Regions from separate parts of the Homo sapiens genome. Here regions 1, 2 and 4 are each linked to region 3. The links are contacts of gene promoters, found by promoter capture Hi-C in human tissues and cell types (Jung and others, 2019). All regions are on one chromosome and are shown on one strand. The core of a region is centred on a gene start or on the middle of the fragment in contact, and the rest is flanking DNA. Distances in the headings are between cores, read along the strand shown.

What was found. The method cuts DNA at HindIII sites, captures the fragments that hold promoters and counts their contacts. A contact is called where the count stands out against the background at its distance.
Region 1: a fragment that was not itself captured here is called in contact with the fragment with the promoter of RAB8A in region 3 in 1 of the 25 tissues and cell types used here (spleen).
Region 2: a contact is called between the fragment with the promoter of OR10H1 here and the fragment with the promoter of RAB8A in region 3, in 1 of the 25 tissues and cell types used here (liver).
Region 4: a fragment that was not itself captured here is called in contact with the fragment with the promoter of RAB8A in region 3 in 2 of the 25 tissues and cell types used here (dorsolateral prefrontal cortex and lymphoblastoid cells).

Annotation. Positions count from the first base shown.
Region 1 is chr19:16,372,317-16,375,376 of GRCh38, forward strand. The region is part of intron 22 of EPS15L1 (epidermal growth factor receptor pathway substrate 15 like 1); the gene reads right to left. Among named protein-coding and RNA genes, the nearest start is that of KLF2, 49 kb to the left of the region's middle. The HindIII fragment of the contact is 3,944 bases long and covers 1-3,060 here.
Region 2 is chr19:15,814,118-15,817,159 of GRCh38, forward strand. It overlaps OR10H1 (olfactory receptor family 10 subfamily H member 1), which reads right to left and starts at 1,547. Exons shown (of 4, transcript NM_013940.4): 1 at 1,438-1,547. The HindIII fragment of the contact is 22,557 bases long and covers 1-3,042 here.
Region 3 is chr19:16,110,376-16,113,460 of GRCh38, forward strand. It overlaps RAB8A (RAB8A, member RAS oncogene family), which reads left to right and starts at 1,514. Exons shown (of 8, transcript NM_005370.5): 1 at 1,514-1,650. The coding sequence starts at 1,527. RefSeq lists a silencer at 897-1,556. The HindIII fragment of the contact is 16,619 bases long and covers 1-3,085 here.
Region 4 is chr19:15,609,945-15,613,033 of GRCh38, forward strand. It overlaps the pseudogene RPL23AP2. Among named protein-coding and RNA genes, the nearest start is that of CYP4F8, 3.7 kb to the right of the region's middle. The HindIII fragment of the contact is 7,491 bases long and covers 1-3,089 here.

The DNA of each region.
Region 1 (3,060 bases), core at 365-2,864, 260 kb after region 3:
AGCCACACCAAATGTCAATTTCACCTCAATTGACCTTTAAACAAAATAAGACAAGCAGCTCCCACGGAATTTGAAAACTGCAGCCTCTAGAACACAAGAGATGGCACCAAAGCCACACGTGACTCAGACCCAAACTCACATTTGGTCCTGTATGAGCGATGACCCACAGAGGACGCTGGAGCCCTCTTTGAAGTTCAACTCCCTGCACGCTTTTTTTAACGGAAAAGATTTCCACTAAACTGTGACCTCACAGGGAGAAAAGGGCCCAATTAATGACTCCCAGAATGTGTGCAGCCACCTCAGCTGCCCAGCCTGTCTTTCCTGGAAAAGGTGCCCATATGGCAGAAGCCTGCGTCCCGGTCCCTGTGCCGCAGGGTGGGGATGGGGGCTACAGACCACATACAGCACGTCACCGTGCAAGGCGCTTCACCCACACACCCACCTGCTAGGCCTGAGTGGGTCCCATGGTCAGGCAGGAAAACTGAGGCTCAGGGAGGTTAAGTGACCCACCCGGGGCCTCCCTTTCCTCCAATGTCCAGAAACCAGCCTGATCAAGCAGTCCCCTGGATTCTAGCAGAATTGGCTGCCCAGAGGACAGAAGGAAGCGGCCTCAGTTCTCCTGTCCTGGCCTCACACATCAGCCATTTCCTGGCACAGAGGCCTAGCAGGGTTCTAGAAACCTCTGGGTGCCCTGGGATGGACAAACCCTGGATGGGAGCATGGGACATCAGACATGTTCCATGTGCCAGGCGGAGAGATGACAGAAAAGCTTGTTCCTTCATTGTGATTTCCATGAGTGCAGGTGTCAACGCTGTGTGCATGTTTAAGACTGCCCACTGGACAGCCTATGGGTCCTTCAGACTTTTTGTCAGTCTGTCTATCTCCACCAGCTCAAGGCTCGACCGCCAGGCTCACAGGGGGTCGCATTTCACCTTCCTCCTCACTCAGCCACGCTGGGACCCACGCATCTCGCGCAAAGCCCCAGCATCTGGGAAGCCCTGGGGTGGCCAGGGGAAGGCGGCCGTCACTGTGTGCTGGCCGTGTGGTCTCCCTGAGCAGAAAAAGCCTGGGGTAGCAAGAAAGGCAGAAAGGCTTTTTTTGGTTTGTTTGTTTGTTTTAAGAAAACATAAAGTCCAGCAGTTTGAAAACGTTGGACTTTATGCTTAAAAAAAAAAAAAAAAATTCACAGATTAGCTTCACTATCTTCTGTCTTAAAGAAGCCAAGAAAACAAGAGATCTGCCTTGTGTCTTCCTGGCGAACTTTCTGAGCACGACTTCACCCGACACTCATCTGCTGACCGCTCTTGCCCATAACCAGAGGCCTCCTGGGCTGCACGTGGGTCTGTGCCGTGTGGCCAGGAACCGGGAAGGGAATTGTACAGAGCCCGGCTCTGATTCCCTTGACCAGAGAGCAAGGGTAGGGCAAGCATCTTCCTTTGCAATTCCCCAAAGAGCCAAACACTTCTCCCCAACATGTGACTCACCAAAGGTCAACCACTGGGTCAACTCAGTGTTTGGACTGTTAGAGGTTAGTACGGAATCACAGCACAAATAATGCTGCAAGCTCAAACGGCAACCACCACACGGTCTGTACCTACCACCCAGCAGCGAGTACAATGCAGAATTTTTCTGTTCAGCCATTGCTTCTGGGTAAAAGAATCAAATGAGAAATATTTAGGCCTCCACACAGATCTGCAGTTGCTCCGGACTTAAAATGCTGCGCGTGCATTGGCTGTTTTAGAGAATGTTCTGAAGCTCATGGCTTGGTTCTCGTTACTCCTGTCTTGGGGCAGGAGGCAGGTCACTGGGTGTAGACCTGGCCCTGCTGCCACCTTGCTGTGTGACCTTGGGGAGCCCCCATGACCTCCCTCCCCGCCTTTCCTCTTCCAGGAAATGGGCATGGCCTGGCCTGTCTCCCTCACGGGTCTTGCTGGGACCTAGTGAGATAAGAACTGTTCAAGCACTTCCTAAGGGCCCATCAATGTTAATATATTTCTGCAGAGCACCGAGTGGCACAGCAACCATCAACCACAGCAGAACAAAGATGCAGTGGCCTGTGCCACGAGTAAAGGAGCCCAGGACCCCCTGGGTCTCAAATTGTGCAACAGCTCCCTAAAAAGCCTGAACCCTGAAGCCAGGCCCAAGGAAGTCACCCAAACTCCCGTTATCAAACGTTCTACTTTTAACAAGCATTCTTTTCTGCTTTCGAAGCCCACAGTACACTAACAGCAGAAGCCAAGGTGGGGTGGGTAGGCTTGCAGAGGGAGACACGATGGGAGGTGATAACTGAGGGAAAGTTCAAAAGCAGACCCAGCGCCGGGTTTAGGTACGTGGGGAGGCGGGGGTGGCGGTTTCCATGAAACACTGAAAATGAAGCTTTGCACCTGTGAGCTGTTGAGTGGGATGGCTCCTCCTCAGGGCCCAGCAAATACGGCACTGCTCGGCAAGTGTGTGCACCCATATGAGAATACGTGCACATGTGTGTAAATGTGTGTACACGTATGTAAGCACAGAGTGTGCATGCCCGGGTGTGTATGAGCACACACGCACGCATATGTGTGTGCACGTTTGCATGCATGCATTATGCAATATCTGTGTAATGCTCACCTGTATTCATGTATATGTTCACATGTGAATATGTGCATGTCTCAATGAATGCATGCACATATATAAGCATGGAGGGTGTGCATGCCCAGCTGTTATCTATGAGAGCATGTGTGTGTGCAGGCATGCACAATGCAGTATGTGAGTGCATGCTGCTCATCTCTATGCATGCATGTGTGTACTGACAAGAGAATATGCACACATGTCCACAGATGCATATAAGCATGGAGAGTGTGCACGGAGGGGTGCATGGGAGAGTGCGTGTGTGCCTGCATATGCGTACATGCAGGCACATGCGAGAATACTCATGTGATGCAGTATGTATGTGAATGCATGCTCACCTGTATGCATGTGTGTTCATGTGCAAACAGGTGCATGCATGCATGTGTCTGCAGGCGTGGAGGATGTGTGTACACAGGGTACACATGTGCATGCAAGAGCATACACGTGTACGTG
Region 2 (3,042 bases), core at 297-2,796, 300 kb before region 3:
TGTGCACTGCAGGAGACTGAGCAGCATTCTTGGTCTCCACCCACCAGATAGATACCAGCAGCACTCCCCAGTCACGACAATCAGAAATGTCCTTATACGTTGTCACGTGTCTCCTGGGTGACAGCATCACTCCATGGGCCAGGCCTGTCTTGTCTCTGAGACCCCATCTGGCCTTAACTCTCACCCATCCTGGCTCTCTCTTCTTAGTGAAGCTGTCTGGCCTCCCCTCTCTTCCACTTAAGCCACCACTTCCCTCTCTTTTCTCTCCATCTTCTCATCCCCAGCTCCTAACCATTCCCTCACCACCTGCTCCCATTGACGCCTCCCTTGTGTGTGTGTGTGTGTGTGTGTGTGTGTGTGTGTGAGAGAGAGAGAGAGAGAGAGAGAGAGAGAGAGAGAGAGAGAGAGAGAGAGAGACAGGGTATCCCTCTGTCACCCAGGCTGGAGTGCAGAGGCACAATCACAGCTCACTGCAGCCTTAACTTCCTGGGCTCAAGCAATCCTCCCACCTCAATCTCTGGAGTAGCTACAGGTGCCTGCCATTCCTGGCCAATTTTTGTATTTTTTTGTACAGACAGGGTCTCACTATGCTGCCCAGGCTGGCCTCAAACTCTTGGACTCAAGTGATCCTCCCACCTTGGCCTCCCAAAGTGCTGGGATTGCAGGCATGAGCCACTGCACCCGGCCCACCCTGATTCTTTACACCCTGGGGTGGTGGCTGGAGCTTCTGAACCCTGAATCCTCTTTCTCTCTTTTCTCCGCCTCTTCCCAATCCTTTTTCCGTAGACTTCTTGCCTGGACAGACCGAGAAGAGAGGTTAAAATCAAACCATCACCTTGGGTCACATTGAGCATTGGCTGTCTTCTCTCTGCACCTGTTACCTCCCCCATCCAAGGGACCTACCTCATGAGGCAGCAGGAGCTCTAAAGAAGGCAAGTCCTGGCTGGGCACGATGGCTCATGCCTGTAATCCCAGTACTTTGGGAAGCCGAGGCGGGTGGATCACGAGATCAGGAGTTCAAGACCAGCCTGTCCAGCATGGTGAAACCCCTGTCTCTACTAAAAATACAAAAAATTAGCCAGGCATGGTGGCACGCACCTGTAGTCCCAGCTACTCAGGAGGCTGAGGGAGAAGAATCGCTTGAACCTGGCAGGCGGAGGTTGCAGTGAGCCGAGATTGCGCCACTGCACTCCAGCCTGGGCTACAGAGCGAGATTCCGTCTCAAAAAAAAAAAAAAAAAAATAGAAGAAGGTAAGTCCTGCTAAGCAAACAGCACACTGACTAAGACGTGGTGAGTGGCCTCTGCCTGTCACCCACTGCCCTGTAGACTCACATTGCTAAAGGAGTAATATAAACAGGTGGTTTCTTGGAGTCCCTGGCAGGTGCTGGTTCCCCAGGTCTCTCCTGGTCAGGTGGCTGAGAGGGGAGGTGACTCACCTGGGACTCCAGGCATCTGCTTCTGCTTCATCCCAGTAGGAGGCTCTAGTTTGGAGTTTCTCCACAGGTGGGAGCTGACCAGGTGTGGGCTGCACCAAGCAGCCACACCAGCTGAGCCGGGGGCTTGACTGAGCCCAAATGCGATTATTTATCCCTCCCTGACTCCCTGCCCACCGGCTTCCCTCGCTGTGGTCCTACTGTCTCTGTCTCCGCTACAGGGATGCTGGGACCCCAGGGACCCTGCCAGAGAGGAGGCAACCTCAGGGAATCTGTATCCTCACTTTCCCATTCCCCCCGCCTGCCAGGGGTGAGTCAATTCCCTGAGCTTGTCAAGAGCTTGAGCAGAGTCTAGTGCTCTACAGATTTGGGGTTTGGGCCCATGACTGTTGAAATTGACAGGAGGGCAGCCCTGCCATTGCCCCCAGGGACTGCAGAGGCTGCCTTGATATGCCCCGTCACCTTCATTCTTCTCCAACTGGGTCATTTGCCCAACTAAATGTCCTTTAAAATAATTTTTTAAAACCAACACACACACACGTATTTGTTTTTATTTTTATTTTTTGAGACAGGGTCTAGCTCTGTTGCCCAGGCTGGAGTGCAGTGGTGTGATTATGGCTCACTGCAGCCTCAACCTCCCAGGCTCAAATGATTCTCCTGCCTCAGCCTCCTGAGCAGCTGGGAGTAAAGGTGCTTGCCACCACACCTGGGCTAAGTTTTAATTTTTCTGTAGAGATGGGGTCTCGCTTTGTTGCCCAGGCTGGTCTTGAGCTCCTTGGCTCAAGGGATCCTCCCACCTTGACCTCTCAAAGTGCTGGGATTACAGCTGTGAGCCACCATGCCTGGCCTGTTTCTTCTTATTATGTAATTGAAATGCTACATACAAAGCAGCAAACCATGCAATGGCCAGCCAGGCAATCGTGACGGTGAATTTAATGGGTATCCCTTCAGATCTTCATGAGCATGTAGGATGTGAAAACAATGCAAACCCATAAAATCAGAGTTCTGTTGTGCATTATTGTTGCTTTCGCTTCGTTCTGCTTTTGAGGTGAAATTCACATAAAATAATCAACCACTTTAAAGTATACAATTCCCTGGGATTGAATGCATTCACAATGTTGTGTGGCCGCCGCCTCTGTCTAGTTCCAAAATGTTTTCATCACCTAATACCCATTAGCAGCCACTCCCCTACCCCACCCAGTCCTTCAAAACCACCAATTTGTTTTCTGGCTCTGGCTCTATGGACTTACCTATTCTAGACATTTCATATAAATGGGACTATATACTACTATATATAACGATGCATTATGATTGCCCCTGTGAGTAGCCACGGCACTCCAGCCATTTTGTCAACACAAAAATGTCGACATTGCCAAGACTGAGAAACTTTGGTCTGCATAAACTCACACAGAGTTCACTCTAAGACGCTGAGTGAAAAACCAAGTTACGGAAAGATATCTACGGGAGAATCAGATCTGCATTTTAAAAACACACAAAATGGTTTGACAGTTTATCAAAAAGTTAACATAGAAATTATCAAAGGACTCAGCAATTTCACTCCTAGGTATACACCCAAAAGAATGGAAAAGGATTCAAACAAATCCTTGG
Region 3 (3,085 bases), core at 264-2,763:
TCCTGCCTCAGCCTCCCGAGTAGCTGGGACTACAGGCGCCCGCCACTACTCCCGGGTAATTTTTTGTGTTTTTAGTAGAGACGGGGTTTCACCGCGTTAGCCAGGATGGTCTCGATCTCCTGACCTCCTGATCCGCCCGCCTCGGCCTCCCAAAGTGCGGGATTACAGGCCTGAGCCACCGCGCCCAGCCTTTTTTTCTTTTGATAGGGTCTTGCTCTGTCGCCCAGGCCGAATTGCAGTGGGGCGATCACGGCTTACTGCACCCTCAACCTCCTGGCTTCCCAAAGCACTGGGATCACAGACGGGAGCCAACGCCCCGGCCAGTTTTTTCAACGTTGAGAGCCCTGGCCCCTAGATAGGACCCAGCATCCTCACTGCTCTAACCCCTCCCCCCCCACCATCCCCGGGCTGGCCCGGACAACCCCTAAGGTGGCCGAGGGCGGGCCCTGAGGAGGCCGGCGCGCGCTTCCGGGCACAGCTTGTGGCGGTGAAGCCGCTCAGATGGCGGAGGCCTTGGGTATCTCTAAGCAGATCGCTAGGCCGCAGACCTCGGAGCTCGTCTTGGGTCACTTTTATTTATTTTTTTTGAGACGGAGTCTCTCTCTGTCGCCCACGCTGCAGTGCAATGGCGCGATCTCGGCTCACTGCAAGCTCCGCCTCCCAGATTCAAGCAATTCTCTGCCTCAGCCTCCCGAGTGGCTGGGATTACAGGCGCCCGCCACCACGCCCGGCTAATTTTTGTATTTTTAGTAGAAACGGGGTTTCACCATCTTGGCCAGGCTGGTCTTGAACTCCTGACCTCGTGATCCACGCGCCTCGGCTTCCCAAAGTGTGGGAATTAAAGGCGTGAACCACCGCGTCCGGCTTGGGTCACTTTTCGAGTATACAGCTCCTCCTCTCTCCTTCCTCCCTAGGCCCCCACTGCCCCGACTCGCAGGCCGCAGACAAGGCTGAGAGCGCTACCTTGCTTTCCCGCGCTCGCCTCGGTGCCTACTGCGCCTGCGCGAGCTGTGAGGGCGGGACCCAGAGACACCCGCCCCAACTACTGGCGTGCGCCCTCTGCTGTCGCCTAACGGAACTCCGGGCGCGCGTGCGCACGCACCCCAAGCCACGCCCCGCCAGGCTGCCGGCGCGCGAGCGGTTGGCGCCGCTCCCTGCCTTCCCTCTCCTACAGTGGGGCGGGGCCGGGCCGCCCGAGTCGGGGGTGGAAGGCGGGGGCCACATAATGCCACGCCCCCGCCTCGTCCCCATTTGAAGCCCCGCGACTCTTCACTGCTGGTCAATCAGAGCCCGTGCTCTCCCTAGTGCCGGCCAATGGGAGGTGCGCTCGGGCTGCTTCCGGCTCCGCGCTCCGCTCGCCCCCTCCCAAGGTCTCCCCGCGACTGGCGGGACGCAGGGGCGGGCGTCGGCCGCGGTGACGCGCAGCGGGCCTGGAGCCAATAAGGGGCGGGCTCGGTGCTGATGGACGGTGCTGGTGGCCAGTGGAGAGGCGCTGGCCGCACTTCCCGTCGGGGAGAGAGTGTAATATGGCGAAGACCTACGATTACCTGTTCAAGCTGCTGCTGATCGGGGACTCGGGGGTGGGGAAGACCTGTGTCCTGTTCCGCTTCTCCGAGGACGCCTTCAACTCCACTTTTATCTCCACCATAGGTAACGGGACCGGGGAATGGCTGGGGGCGCCGGAGGCCCGGGCTGGGCGCGCCCCTGAGGGGCTGGGGCTGAGGGATCTACAGGGCTGGACGGGCCGAGGGCGCTGAGAGGGTCGAGGGGGCCTAAAGGGAGAAGAGCAGTCGCCTGCACCGCCGTTCGGGGGTTCCTGGGCCGTGGTGGGGGAGACCAGGTGCCCATTTTGCAGATAGGGAGACTGAGGCTCCGACCCTCAGCCCGCTCGTTAGGGCGTGTTATGTCTTGGGCTGGGGTCTTCGCGCCCGTCCTCTCGATCTGTCCTAGCAGCAGCCCTCGAAGCGGTTCTTTTGAGGCTCTTGCCTTACAGAAGTGGAAACTGAGTCATGGGGAATTGGCCATGGGAAAAAGACAGTGGCATCTCACCTTAATGAGCATTTACTATGTGCCAAGTGCTTCACGTGCATTTTCACACTCTTCAGTTCTTGGTGTTAAGTGCTGTTATGAGCCCGTCTGACAAGATGAGGAATCTGAGGCTCAGGGAGGGCATGGAACTTGCCCAAGGCCACACAGTCTGCACGTGGTGAGAATGGGATTTGATGGAATTTGAACCTGGCTGTGTCTCAACCCAAAACTCGAGGCTTAGCTCTCCTAGAGAGATGCCACTGCACACTCCCAGCTGATGACAAGCTCAGCTAATGCACCTTGGAGCCGGGACTCTAACCCACACCATTCCTGCTCTTTTCTCTGGAGCGTTCAGAGGTTGAGCCCCTCTCCCTGACCATGCTTCCCCTCATAAGCGTATTTTCCTCTAGAAGGAATGATAAGAAGAGTCAGGACCTTTTCCCTGCCCACCTTTCATCCTGCTCCAGGAATGACAGCAATGGCAAGTGACAGCACTGCCTGCCCTGGGACCTGTCATCCCCAAGAAGATGCAAGATAAAAGCCTCAGCGAGAAACTAAATCAGCCACTGCCACAGACAGCCTTGACTTCCCTATCAAAGGGCCCAAGACTCCAGCTGTCACTTTAGAACAGCTTTTCCTGTAGGGCCAGCCCACATTGTGGTTGAACAGAATTGGCTTGGTGCATCTCAGTTGTGATGTCCACAGAAGTGGAGCTGACCTCTCTCAGTGCCACAAAAGCAGTCCTGGCCCACAATGAAAAGGTTTGACCCAGGAGTAACACCTATTTGAGTGGCTTGTGAGCTCTGTAGCCCTGCTAGGGATGGGGAAAGTGGGGGAACGGTCACTAAGTCCAGGAGTTTATTCCGACTCAAGAAAACCTAGGGAATGGCCTTTGCTTTACTGTGTCACTTTGACAGAATCGTGTTATCTCCCTGAACCCCAAGATAATGTGCTAATTCCATTCTTGCCCTCCTCCAGGAGCTATGCTTTATTTATTTTATTTTATTTTATTTTTTGAGACGGAGTCTAGCTCTTTTGCCCAGGCTGGAATCCAGCG
Region 4 (3,089 bases), core at 99-2,598, 500 kb before region 3:
CGTGCATGAAGGTTGAAACCTGCTCAGGAAGGTCCAGGGTGACCAGGGAGGCCACTCTGAAACACTGATGACTACATCATTTTGTGGAGTGAAATTAAAGCTGCCGAGGCAGAAATACTTTGATAAGGGTTTATTTGAAGCCAAAGGTGAGGATCAACCCAGAAAGATGCACCAACACATTTGGATGTGTGCCAGAATCTTTTACAATTTGGAATGTTTTTATAAGAAAGTTTAGGAGAAGAGAAGGGAACTTCTTATATCAGAATTGTCTGTTTTTATTGGAGGGTATAATACAGAGGTCATAATGATTAGATACAGGTTATAACATACAGGCTAAAACATTTTGTATGTAAAACCATCAGTGAAACTTTATAAGAGAGGGCACAGTGGCTTATGCCTGTAATCCCAGCACTTTGGGAGGTTGAGACGGGCAGATCCCTTGAGGAGAAGCTCATCGCTCCTGAGGCCAGTAGTTCGAGACCAGCCTAGCCAATATGGTGAAACTCTGCTCTACTAAAAATACAAAAATTAGCTGGGCATGGTGGCACATGCCTGCAATCCCAACAACTCGAGAGGCTGAGGCAGGAAGGTTGCTTGAACCTAGGAGATGGAGGTTGCAGTAAGATGAGACTGCGCCACTGCACTCCAGCCTGGGTGACAAAGACCCTGTCTCAAAAAAAAAAAGAAAAGAAAAGAAAAACTTTATGATTTATAAATATAAAGCAAAACTTCATGGTTTAGAAACAAAGGATTGTGCTTTTCCATATCAGTGGAAAATCAGAACATCAACAGTTGGAAGAACTCATAAGATCTGAGTAATTAAAGATAAGATTTGAGGAACTCACAAGATTCTTTACTCAGGAACAGGATGTAACCCATGCATCAAGAGATCTTTTCCGGGGGCTAATTGGGACTAATGTGACTGGTAGGTTATCAGCAGAGACCACGTCTGTCTTGTTCAACCTGTGTCCCAGGTCCTAGCACCATGCCTGCTACCATTTAAGTGTTCATGTGAAGTTTGTTGTTGAGAAACTAATTACCTAAAAGTTAGAACTTGACCTTTGCATTTTATCGAGGAGGCTATGAGACTCAGAGGGTTACACAGCTAGTGAGTGGCAGAGCCTGGACTTGAACTCAGTTGTGCTGAAGCCAGAATGTGTTCCTTCCTGAGCATTCAAGGACAGGGAAGGTGAAACTCCAGCTAGTGGGCAGCCCGTGTGCTTGTTCTAGGGAGACTGCAGGCCGATTCCTGGGAGCTGGGTCTTCATGGTGACACAGTAAGAACAACTCACCTATTGGCTGGGCGCAGTGGCTCACGCCTGTAATCCCAGCACTTTGGGAGGCCGAGGTGGTTGGATCACTTGAGGTCAGGAGTTGGAGACCAGCCTGGCCAATATGGTGAAACCCTGTCTCTACTAAAAATACAAAAATTAGCTGGGTGTGGTGGCTCATGCCTGTAATCTCAGCTGCTCGGGAGGCTGAGGTAGGATAATCGCTTGAACCTGGTGGGGCGGAGGTTTCAGTGAGCCGAGATTGGCACCATTGCCCTCCAGCCTGGGTGACAAAGTGAGACTCTGTCTCAAAAAACAAAGCAAAGCAAAACAAAACAAAACGAAACAGAACTACTCACCTATGTTGTGGATCAACTGTGTCCCCACTGTACCAAATCCTTATTTATTTAAAAAAATTTGTTTTGGACCCTTTTCACAAGATGGTGCCGAAAGTGAAGAAGGAAGCTCCTGCCCCTCCTAAAGCCGAAGCCAAAGCGAAGGCTTTAAAGGCCAAGAAGGCAGTGTTGAAAGGTGTCCACAGCCACAAAAAGAAGATCCACACGTCACCCACCTTCCGGCGGCCGAAGACACTGCGACTCCGGAGACAGCCCAAATATCCTCGGAAGAGCGCTCCCAGGAGAAACAAGCTTGACCACTATGCTATCATCAAGTTTCCGCTGACCACTGAGTCTGCCATGAAGAAGATAGAAGACAACAACACACTTGTGTTCATTGTGGATGTTAAAGCCAACAAGCACCAGATCAAACAGGCTGTGAAGAAGCTCTATGACATTGATGTGGCCAAGGTCAACACCCTGATTCGGCCTGATGGAGAGAAGAAGGTATATGTTCGACTGACTCCTGATTACGATGCTTTGGATGTTGCCAACAAAATTGGGATTATCTAAACTGAGTGCAGCTGCCTAATTCTGAATATATATATATATATCTTTTCACCATATACATGCCTCTCTGTCAATTTCTGGTTGGGCTGGGAGGCCACACACAGACACTGACATGACAGGGCTTGGGCAAGACTCCTGTTCTACTTATCCTTTTGAAATATTCACCCTGCCACTCCACCATGTGTGATCACTCCAGAGATCTTTGTGACTAGAGTTAGTGTCCTAGGAAAACCAGAACTCAGAACTTGCCTCCATGGTTGAGGGTAACAAGAAGCTGTACAAGAACCCCTTTTATCCCTGGAAGAGGCTGTGTATGAAACCAATGCCCAGGGTTTGAAGGGCGTTAGCATCCATTTCAGGGGAGTGTGGATTGGCTGGCTTTCTGGTAGCATTTTGTCCTCACACACCCATCTACTGTGTCCAACCGGTCTGTCTGCTTCCCTCACCCCTTGCCCAATAAAGGACAAGGACTTCAGAGGAAAAAAAAAATTGTTTTAATTATTACATTTATAGCATCCCAGCTTGAAAAACGAAGCAACAGAGACGTGTAGAAAGTTAAAAGGTTTCTACTCCAATTGTAATTTCTCCAATTCCATCGTGGTATGTGCATTCTTCTGGATTTTTTTCAGTGTGCATACACATGTGTACATACAGACACATACACATACACTCGTACGTTTTTTATATTGATGGGACCATTACTCACATCTTTAATTTGGAACTTATTCTCTGCTCTCTCTCCCTGTGTCTGATAGAATGCTGGCAATGCTTTGTGATGCTTTAGGAGACACATTTGTCAGATGTGAAGACTTAGGCTTAGGAATTGATGGGTGGTGACTGAGGCTGGTCACTCTGTGGTCTGGTGCACTTTCCCACTGCCCCACTCTGGGTAGGGGTGGAAGGGCCCCTGCAG